2 separate regions of the Homo sapiens genome follow, and region 1 is linked to region 2. Evidence: promoter capture Hi-C in human tissues and cell types (Jung and others, 2019). All regions are on one chromosome and are shown on one strand. The core of a region is centred on a gene start or on the middle of the fragment in contact, and the rest is flanking DNA. Distances in the headings are between cores, read along the strand shown. Region 1 overlaps GRID2 (glutamate ionotropic receptor delta type subunit 2). Region 2 holds the start of GRID2 (glutamate ionotropic receptor delta type subunit 2).

Region 1 (4,389 bases), core at 503-3,002, 58 kb after region 2:
TTGTATTTCTTTGTAAACTACCTTTAATGGTTTGGTTTGGGCAGCCTAATCTCCCTCTGGAGATAAGAAAGAAATTCTATGAATACAGCAAGTATTTGAAGACAGGAAGGGAGAAAAGGAGAAATATTTAATTAAGCAGAGAGCTTTACCTAGTTTTCCCTTACTGTTATTTATAAGCAATACATTGGCTCTAGATTTATACCTATGCAGTTCCACAATCTTTATTCTGGCTCAAGCTTCTCTTTTTAATCTCATACTATTCCAAGACAACTTGTTGGAGGTAACTGTGCCCTACCTCTCTCTTTTCTGCATCTTTATCCTTCAGCTGGGATACACCCCCACCACTCCTTGTCCTCTTCATAAAATTGTTTTGATTCTTCTAGGATTAGCCTGTGTGCTGCTGCCTCTGCCTGTTTATGCATTCATGAGTTCGAATAAAAACACAGGCAGATAAACAAAACCAAACCATTACTGAGTGCCATATGCCAGATTCTAGACATAGAATAATAAAAAAAAATGCGGTTCTTTTCCTAAAAAAATTCATAGTCTGATGGGAACACCTGCATGCATATCAACAAATTTAAAGCAATGAGAGACAAGTGAAAGTAGAGTCACATTCCACAGCCACCCAGCATTGTTCAACGGTATCATGGAGGCTTCATAAGATTAGTGATGTTTGAATGGAGTCTTGAAAGATAAGAAGGAATATACTAGGTAGAGAGTGGAAGGGATTGGGGCAGAAGAAGCAGAGGTATGGAAGACCATATTGAGTCTAGGGAATCATCAGGTCTTTCAGAGCCCATATCTCTTAAAAAATCACATTGGCAATCCTGATTCAAAGTGATCTCCACAGGAAACTTTTGTGGGGTTTTCCCCCTTTTATATCAACTGTAAGTCTTCATTTTTATAGATAAGATATAGATATTTTTCTAGGTTAAATATTTGTGTTCTATTTTAAATTGCTTGGTGACTGATAAGTTGCTTGAGGGTAAGGACTAGGTCTCTTCTACTTTTTTATTCTTTAACACACCCATAACTGAGTTTTGTAATTATTTTTATTTATTGTTTACTCTGTACCAAGGACTCTTAAGAAATGTGGTTTTATATTTCTTTAACTCCAACTAAAACTCCATTAGGTTAGGTACTATTATTACCCTCAATCACAGTTAAATAAGGCAATGCTTAGTGAGATCAAATGACCTTTCTAGGAGGCAAATTGAATTAAAAGATCTGATATCAGAGCCATAACTTAACAAATACTTTATTTAACCTTCGCAGGTAAGTCATTCTACATGTTCCTACTAAACTCTAAATGGACAAAGCAATTCTGAAATTAAAAATAATAGTTCAATTAAATAACTCTACGTGAAGACAGTGTATCAGTATATGGAAATATTCAATGTAAATTGTATATTAGAAAAAAAATTGTGTATGTAAATTGTATATCAGAACAAAAGTTCTGGAAAGCCTTTATATAATTGAAACAGTAAAAATCTCAAGGATGATTTTCACAACCTTGTATTGCTGTATCTAGTACATATTTTTAGGATCCAGGTGTTCATACTCTGAAGGTGCCATCTGGCATGGTCATTTCTAGAAAACAGGGCTGCTGTAGCTAACTCTACCTGGACAATCTCAGAGGAAGTAGGTTGTGATGGGGGAAGGTTGGAAAGGTAGTTGCGAGGGTCAGTGGATATAAAAAAGTTTGCCCATCTGTTGTAAATTTTTTTAAGTCTCCAAATTCCTTTGTTGCCAGTGTCCTGGTTATAGTGGAAGGGCCTCAAGTACGCATGATTCTTGTAATCTGGGCTTCTGGCTTCCATAAATGCCAGAGAATTTGCAACAGTAATGTGGTATACTGAGCATCTGCCTTTTAATGCAGCTTCCTCTTTCCATTCTAGGATCATCAACTCAGTTAATTAGAGGAGTGGCAGGGGTTACAATGCTAGCAAATTCTGCAGTATTATGTTATTTGTAGAGAGTGCCCTGGAAATATAATGAGAAGAGAAAAATCCAAGTATTTCTGTTTCTCATTCAAACCCAGATGGAAAAATATGAGGTGAGACACTTAGAAAATCAGAGTAATTGAACAACATACTCAGACTGGTTTATTGGCATGAATGATGTCCCCTTCACAGTAGTTATCATAGGAGCCAAACAATACAATAATGTCACCATTGCTCATGCTGTTTGGGCTCTTGTGTTGGTGTTATCTTTGGATTCTGTGGGCTGTACTATGAATAATTCTCAACAGTAGCAAATCTTCAAACAGAAAGAGTCTGTTCTGTTTTTGCTATTAGCAGAAGTTAGAATGTGCCAAATTTGGTGAATAAAGTGGGTGATCAAAGTGGGAAGTATGATTTTTTTTGCCAAAAACAAAGTAGATTGCAAAATAATGAAACATTTTTGTCTTAATGTGGCTTAAAACAAGCTCTGTTTATTCCAAAAATTTTTCTAAAATTATTTTGAAATACTGCAGAATGTCTGTAGCATGTATTTTCCAATTATTTAATTAAATTAAATCCACAGATTCTCATAAATATATATAAATTTCAGTTTTCTTTGTAAATGTATAGTTACACCTATTATTTTACATTTTTGTTGTTGAACAGCATTACAAATATTTTAAATCTTCTCATTTAAACAATCTTAAACTAACCAAAACAAACCTATTTCAAACTAAGTTGAAATATTTTCAGAAGTTAAAAAGGATATTTTTTGAGACCTAAGAAGTTTTAAATCAAAACAAGAAAAGATTCAGAAACCAAACACATTGTACTCATTTAGGATAAAATAATTTGAGGTAATTATGAAGTGAGGAGTCAGATTCGTATTTTCTGAATTTAATTGTGTCATTGTATATATTATTTTTTACGTCGTATCACAGCCCTGTGTAGTAGATATTATTTTAACATTTGGTCGATTATCCAAGTTTACAGTCAATATTCAAAGTTTTGTCTGACTCCACAGCTTTTATCCAGCTCTAATACAAGACTTCATATATTCCCTTCTTCAGAAGAGAGAGGAGAAAAAAAACTTTGAGTGACAATTATTTTTAATTTTTACACTGTTAAGTGAATATACCTGAGAGGGCATTGCTTTCAAAATCTTACTACTCAGAGTATGGCCAGCAGACAACACTCTGTGTGGCAGCATCAGTGTCTCCTGGTAGCTGACTAGTGAAGTAGAGTATTAGATGCCACACCAGATGTACCAAATCAGAAGCTATATTTTAACAAGTCCCCCCATGTGAATTGCTTTAGAGCAGTGATCTTAAGCATATCTTTGGAAGTCTTTTAAACAATATTCTAGTGTCTTCTGCATTTTTTACAGGCTCTCAAACAGGACAAAATTTTTCAGCTATGAGGTGTGTCTAAAAGTATGAACTCATTTTGACTTCAGAACAATAAGAACTCTTGAAGGTCACCTTTAGCGTTTTAGTTAAATAACATGAAACTTACTATTAAGGAGGACATGTTTGATAAGAGAAAAAAACCACTACTGCCTAAGTAGTCATACACTCTTCAAAATTGATACACAATGACTGAAAGGATTATTAAACTATGGTCAATTACTGATGATTTATAACACACAATTTACGGTGATTCATTTTTTTTCTGGATACCTATCTTTGAATATGCTATTTTTAAAAATTATTTTGTCATTTAGACTTCTATTTTATACTGAATTGAAATAACATACTATGTTCCTAAAATATCATATGGAAAAGGGTTTAGCTTAGTGTTCATTGGTTGTGATATTTTTTAACAAAATTTTCAAAATAACACATTTTTAAAGTGAATTTTATTAATTACTGTGTCTAGAATTAAGTTTACTTTTTTTTTTTTTTTTTTCTGACAGAATCTCCCTTTATCACCCAGGCTGGAGTGCAGTGGCATGATCTCATCTCACTGCAGCCTCCACCTCCTGGGTTGAAGCAATTCTTGTGTCTCAACTCCCCAGGTAGCTAGGATTACAGGCACCCGCCACTATGCCCAGCTAAGTTTTGTATTTTTAGTAGAGATGGGGATTTCACCATGTTGCCCAGGCTGGTCTCGAACTCCTAGCCTCAAGTTATCCACCCACCTCTGCCTCCCAAAGTGCAGTATAATGTGTCTAAATATCAAATTATAAAAAAGTAAAAAGATTATCATCAAACTACATTTCTACACTCATGGTAAGATTTTTCATAATTTTTCTTATGAACATGCTTAAGCATTTTAAACACTGCTTGTAGCCTCTGCAAAAGTTAGCATGCTAAATGTATGTTTAAAAGAACTAAGAAAGGAAGGGAGGAAGAAATAAACAGGTTTCTGTTATGCAAAGTTGAGTGAGTTCAAGATGTTTATGTTCATCACCAGAACACGTGTAAAAATAGCTGTAATTCAT
Region 2 (4,548 bases), core at 246-2,745:
GACAGCATAGAAGATAGATGGATTTATTCCACATTAAAGGACTGGACACTACTTCATGGGCAAAAGGAATTTGAACTAGCCCTTGAGATGGTGAAGGAGAGTGGTTGGGAGGACAAATACGTGCTTTCCAAGCAGAAATATTAACATAAGTAAAAATATGGCAGCAAAACATTTTCTGGAATGTTCAGGAAAAAGTGTACAAGATGAATGAAAACAGCCAGAAGTGAGAATGTACAACTGTGTCTGGAAAAATAGTAACCCAATTCAGAAGGCTAGAGAGAAGGGCTCAAGTGAGGGAACGGGAGGAAAAGAGGTTTGCCAAACTTGGAGGTAAGGCTTTGAAAGGTTGTGTAATGAGCTTGACATCCACACATCCAACATTCCTAAAGAATTCCAATTATAACTGAGACAATATTATGACATTAATACCTGACCTCGACTAGTCACTCGATTGTGTTAACAAATCTTCAGTTTGCAATGAGGCCAGATTGACATAAGTCAATCATTATAAGAAAAGAAGTCACAATGATCAGGATTTTATCTTAAGGAATAAGCTTGCAGAAAATCCTTTCACTGGAGACTGAGAGGCTGTCATTCAGGACTTCCTCAGCTTTTTCCATGGAAGAGAGTACCCAACTTCCTCATTCGGAATTTATCTACATAGGTTATTAAGCTACTCAATGAAATATTTTGACCAAATGTTTATGAAAAATTTTTCTGTTTTATTTAATTATTCTGCTTTTTTATTTTAATTTCAAGATCTTTTCTATCCTGATAGAGAAGAATTTCTATCAATAGAAAGGATTTCAGGAACCTTTCTCTATCCTGATTGCCTAAAAAATACACTGGAGACAGAAAAAAAAAATCATTGTATAAAAGGTAATTAGCACGTTCTCTCCTTTTTATAACTTTATAATTGAAATCTCATTAAAAGCTTTCTAGGTCTGTATTTCCCTAAGTGACCAGGTGTCCCTAATTTGTTTTCAACCAATGTGACTAATTCCAGGCAAAGACTAGAAAAAGTCTGATACCTGTTAGAGAATAGCAAGGTTAAATAAGTGGGGTGGCTTTTTTAGGTTGCATTTAACCTCGTAAAATAAAGAAAGGAAAAAAAAAGCTTCAATGTCTTTTTACAGTCCTGCCTTTTTCTCAGTCCCGGTTGAAGATTCCATGGGAAATGAGAGCACTATTTTGTTTCTCCCTTGTATTGCAGATAGGGGGAGGAGGTGGTTATTAGAGAGAAGCTCTTCCTCTCTTGGTTTCCCCCTCTCTCCGCCTGACAGCACCGCTCTCTCGCAGGCTCGCTCCTTCTCCTAGGTGATCCATTTCTAGGCAACGTGGGGCTGGTGCTGAAGCTGCCAGGCTCGCTCCTTGCTTCCTGCATCCCGCCAGGCGAAACGCTCCAAAAGCATCCTGCAGCCTGCGGCGGCTTCCCTCCTCTGGCCCGGCCCCGCTGCTCGCGCCCGGCGCAACCCCCCCGCCACCGCGCCCCAGCAAACCGGCTCCCCGGGCCCGCCTCGCCAAGCTGCGTTCCGCGCCTCACGCAGAAAGGGAATTTTCTCTGCATTACTATCTGCATTACCTTGAAGTTCACTTTTTCTACCCCTCTTGGAGAGGGCTTTTTTCCCCCCTCCCTGGTGGAATCTGGCTGCTCCGTTTGGAATCTCCTAATCTTTCCTTTCCACTTAGATTCTGGCAGCGAAGACCAGTGATTCTCTGCGGGCTGTAGGGGCGGGGGCGGGGGTCTTTTTTGGTCCGAGAGGGTGCGGGGAAGGGGGCACATCCGGCGTGAGGGGGGTGTTGGAAGTTGCAGCGGAGCTGGGACCGGAGACCCGCGGCCCCCGCGCAGCGATGGGTCTGATCTGAGCCCCAGCCTCTCCCCCTGCCCAAGAGCAGTAGAGGCTGGATATATTTTTCAAAAGCCAAACTGCAAACAACTCTGGCGATGCCAAAATTCCCCTCCAAGTGACACGGCTTTGCGAAGGAGGTTTCCTCAGGCTGGGCTCTTTCTGTCATTCCCTTCTGCCTTTCTCGGCGACGATAAAAGGCTTTGCTCTGGCAATAGGAATTTAGAAAAAAAGAAAAAGCTGCGCTAAACTCCACCGTGACCTCAAACTCTTTGGACTGTTTGAAAAAAAAAAAATTGGAAGAAAATCCATCCTCCAAGAGAATCGGCATAGGAGGAGATGGAAGTTTTCCCCTTTCTCTTGGTTTTGTCCGTCTGGTGGTCTCGAACCTGGGACTCGGCGAATGCGGATTCGATCATTCACATCGGTAAGAAAGTGTTGGTGCAGCTCGTGGTTACTTTTACCGTTTCAGTTCTCAAATGTTTCCCCTTCGCTTTCCCCCTCTCCGGTCTCTGTGTGTCTTGTTGGAGGTGGCTTCAGTTCATTGCCCCTTCCCGCTACCCTTCCCTCACACTTGCTCAGTTTTCTGAAAGGATGTGGATGCTCGAACCTCGACTGACTTGTGCTGTTGTTTTGCAGTGATTCGTGGAATGTGGCTGGATGCGTGGGGGTCTCGAGTTGACCTGAGTGTGAGTGTGTGCTGGGAACTGCAGGGGGATTCTAAGTGTGTGGGGAAAGGGAGTTTAATTGACTCTTATCTTCCATATTTTTTTTCCCGGATGTACATTTGCTCCATTTAAAAATTTATCTTTGGGGGAGCAGAGAAGCTGTCACCTGTGAGATGAAAAGAACTGGGCTGGGGGGTAGGGGGAGCTCCCTTCGGATCGAACAGGTGGTTTTGCAACGTGAGCCGGCTGAGTTCGCCGCAGCTTAGTGCGATGGTGACGGGGGTGCCGGATGCGCCCCCAGCCACCCTCTCTTCTCACATCTTCTTGGCTTTATGATCCTTGCGTGTAGTCTTTGAGACGGTGGCAGGAGGGGCTGGCGGCAGTGTCGCCAAGGACTGATTGTCGCGTGCCTCGCCTCCTCGGACACGCTCCCGGGGCCTGGCGCGGCGGCGAAACTGACCCCGGGGCGCTTGGGAAACGCGGGGAAGCGAATGCGCGCAGGCTGCTCCCGAGGTCTGCTTAGCAGATATCCGCCTTGCCTCGCCTCGCCTCGCCTCGCAGTCAACTCCGAGTAGCCGCGCAAGGCAGACAGCGAAGGCGCCGGGACTACTGCGGGCCGCGACTCTGAGAAGGACTGCCGAGCGGGCTCCGAGATGCTGGTGGCCCCACCTATTGGCAACCAGACGGGCCGGGACTGGCCGCGGCGAGCAGGGGCGGGCGGGGGGCTGCGCGTCATTATCATGCACAGCGCTCGCAGCTTCAGGCTCCAACTCTACTCACTTGCTAATCCGTGAGAGCTGAGCGGGAGACAGGCTCTTGCAGCCTTTTCTGCGTTAATGCGACGATTTCTTTTTCGGAAATTCGCTTACCGAGCCAGCAAGGTTTCTTTGCTGGGCTGCAGAGAGGTCCCTTTGGGGGAATTTTTCTGGGCACAGGACTTTTATCTGTACGCATGGCTTGGTGTTCTGCAAATTGAGGCGACAGATGGGTCACAGCTTCTCCCCTTTCTGTACCCCTGCTTCTCCACCGCACAACACGCATACACATACACACACGCACGTACACATACTCCTGGTAGGGGAATCTGCTGCAGGTGGCGATTGTGCCCGCCCAAGCGAGGGATTTCTGTCTAGCGTGCGCGCCCACAGTGGCCAGCCCCTCCGCTCCAGGGGGCTCCCTCTCTTGGTCTCAGAGGCTGTCTTTGTAAACATGTCTGCCATTCTCTATCATTTATATCAGTAGAACTGTCTGTCTCTGTGCAAGGGGTAATGAGGTCAGGATTCAGAAAACCTAGCGTTTGTGCATTAAGTAAGTCAAGCACTAATAGCTTGCCTGCTGGATCCCGTTTTGCCTGGGGGCTAACAGTGCCTACAGATTCAGAACTTTTCAGCAAGAAATTATGGTCTCATTGAGTGGTTCAGCAATGTTCTGATAGAGTTCAGAAATGAACTATGCTCCTTTTAGAGAAATGGCATACATTTATATCTAGTTGTAAATGATTGGAGCAGGAATGCAGATATATAATCATAATACCTTTATATTCATTGTATGATTAGGGATTTCTGATGTAGGCTCCTCATCTCTCAGGAGGGAAAGCCTGTGGAAGAATGCTTTTTTTAAATCGCTTATTCTGTGGTCTGCATGATAAATACATTATTTACAAATACCTACAGCTTTTGCTATCCCTTACTAGTTAAATATTATTTTGCAATGCAGTCTGGACATCTGTTTCAAAATAGAACAAAACTGTTGTATTTTTTAGTTTGTATACTGTTGTCTGTCAGAGTGGCTATAATCACATTTAAAAATTAACTGTGTACAAATTACAGATTTCTTTAGAAAGTTGGTTGTATACATTAACTGTGTATATCCTACTAACAGATATAGTTACTTCTGAGACAATTAATTTGACTTGAATATAATTAGTACATTAGATGAGATAATTAGCTGTTTTATAGACTACCTAATATTGTCATGAGGCTAGCAAATTGTTTCAAAAACTTTATCTTTTATAATATATCGAAAAACATTAA

What was found. The method cuts DNA at HindIII sites, captures the fragments that hold promoters and counts their contacts. A contact is called where the count stands out against the background at its distance.
Region 1: a fragment that was not itself captured here is called in contact with the fragment with the promoter of GRID2 in region 2 in 4 of the 25 tissues and cell types used here (dorsolateral prefrontal cortex, heart left ventricle, hippocampus and 1 more).

The regions. Positions count from the first base shown.
Region 1 is chr4:92,359,984-92,364,372 of GRCh38, forward strand. The region is part of intron 1 of GRID2 (glutamate ionotropic receptor delta type subunit 2); the gene reads left to right. Among named protein-coding and RNA genes, the nearest start is that of GRID2, 58 kb to the left of the region's middle. The HindIII fragment of the contact is 7,454 bases long and covers 1-4,389 here.
Region 2 is chr4:92,302,471-92,307,018 of GRCh38, forward strand. It overlaps GRID2 (glutamate ionotropic receptor delta type subunit 2), which reads left to right and starts at 1,496. Exons shown (of 16, transcript NM_001510.4): 1 at 1,496-2,274. The coding sequence starts at 2,187. RefSeq lists a silencer at 3,028-3,322. The HindIII fragment of the contact is 11,112 bases long and covers 745-4,548 here.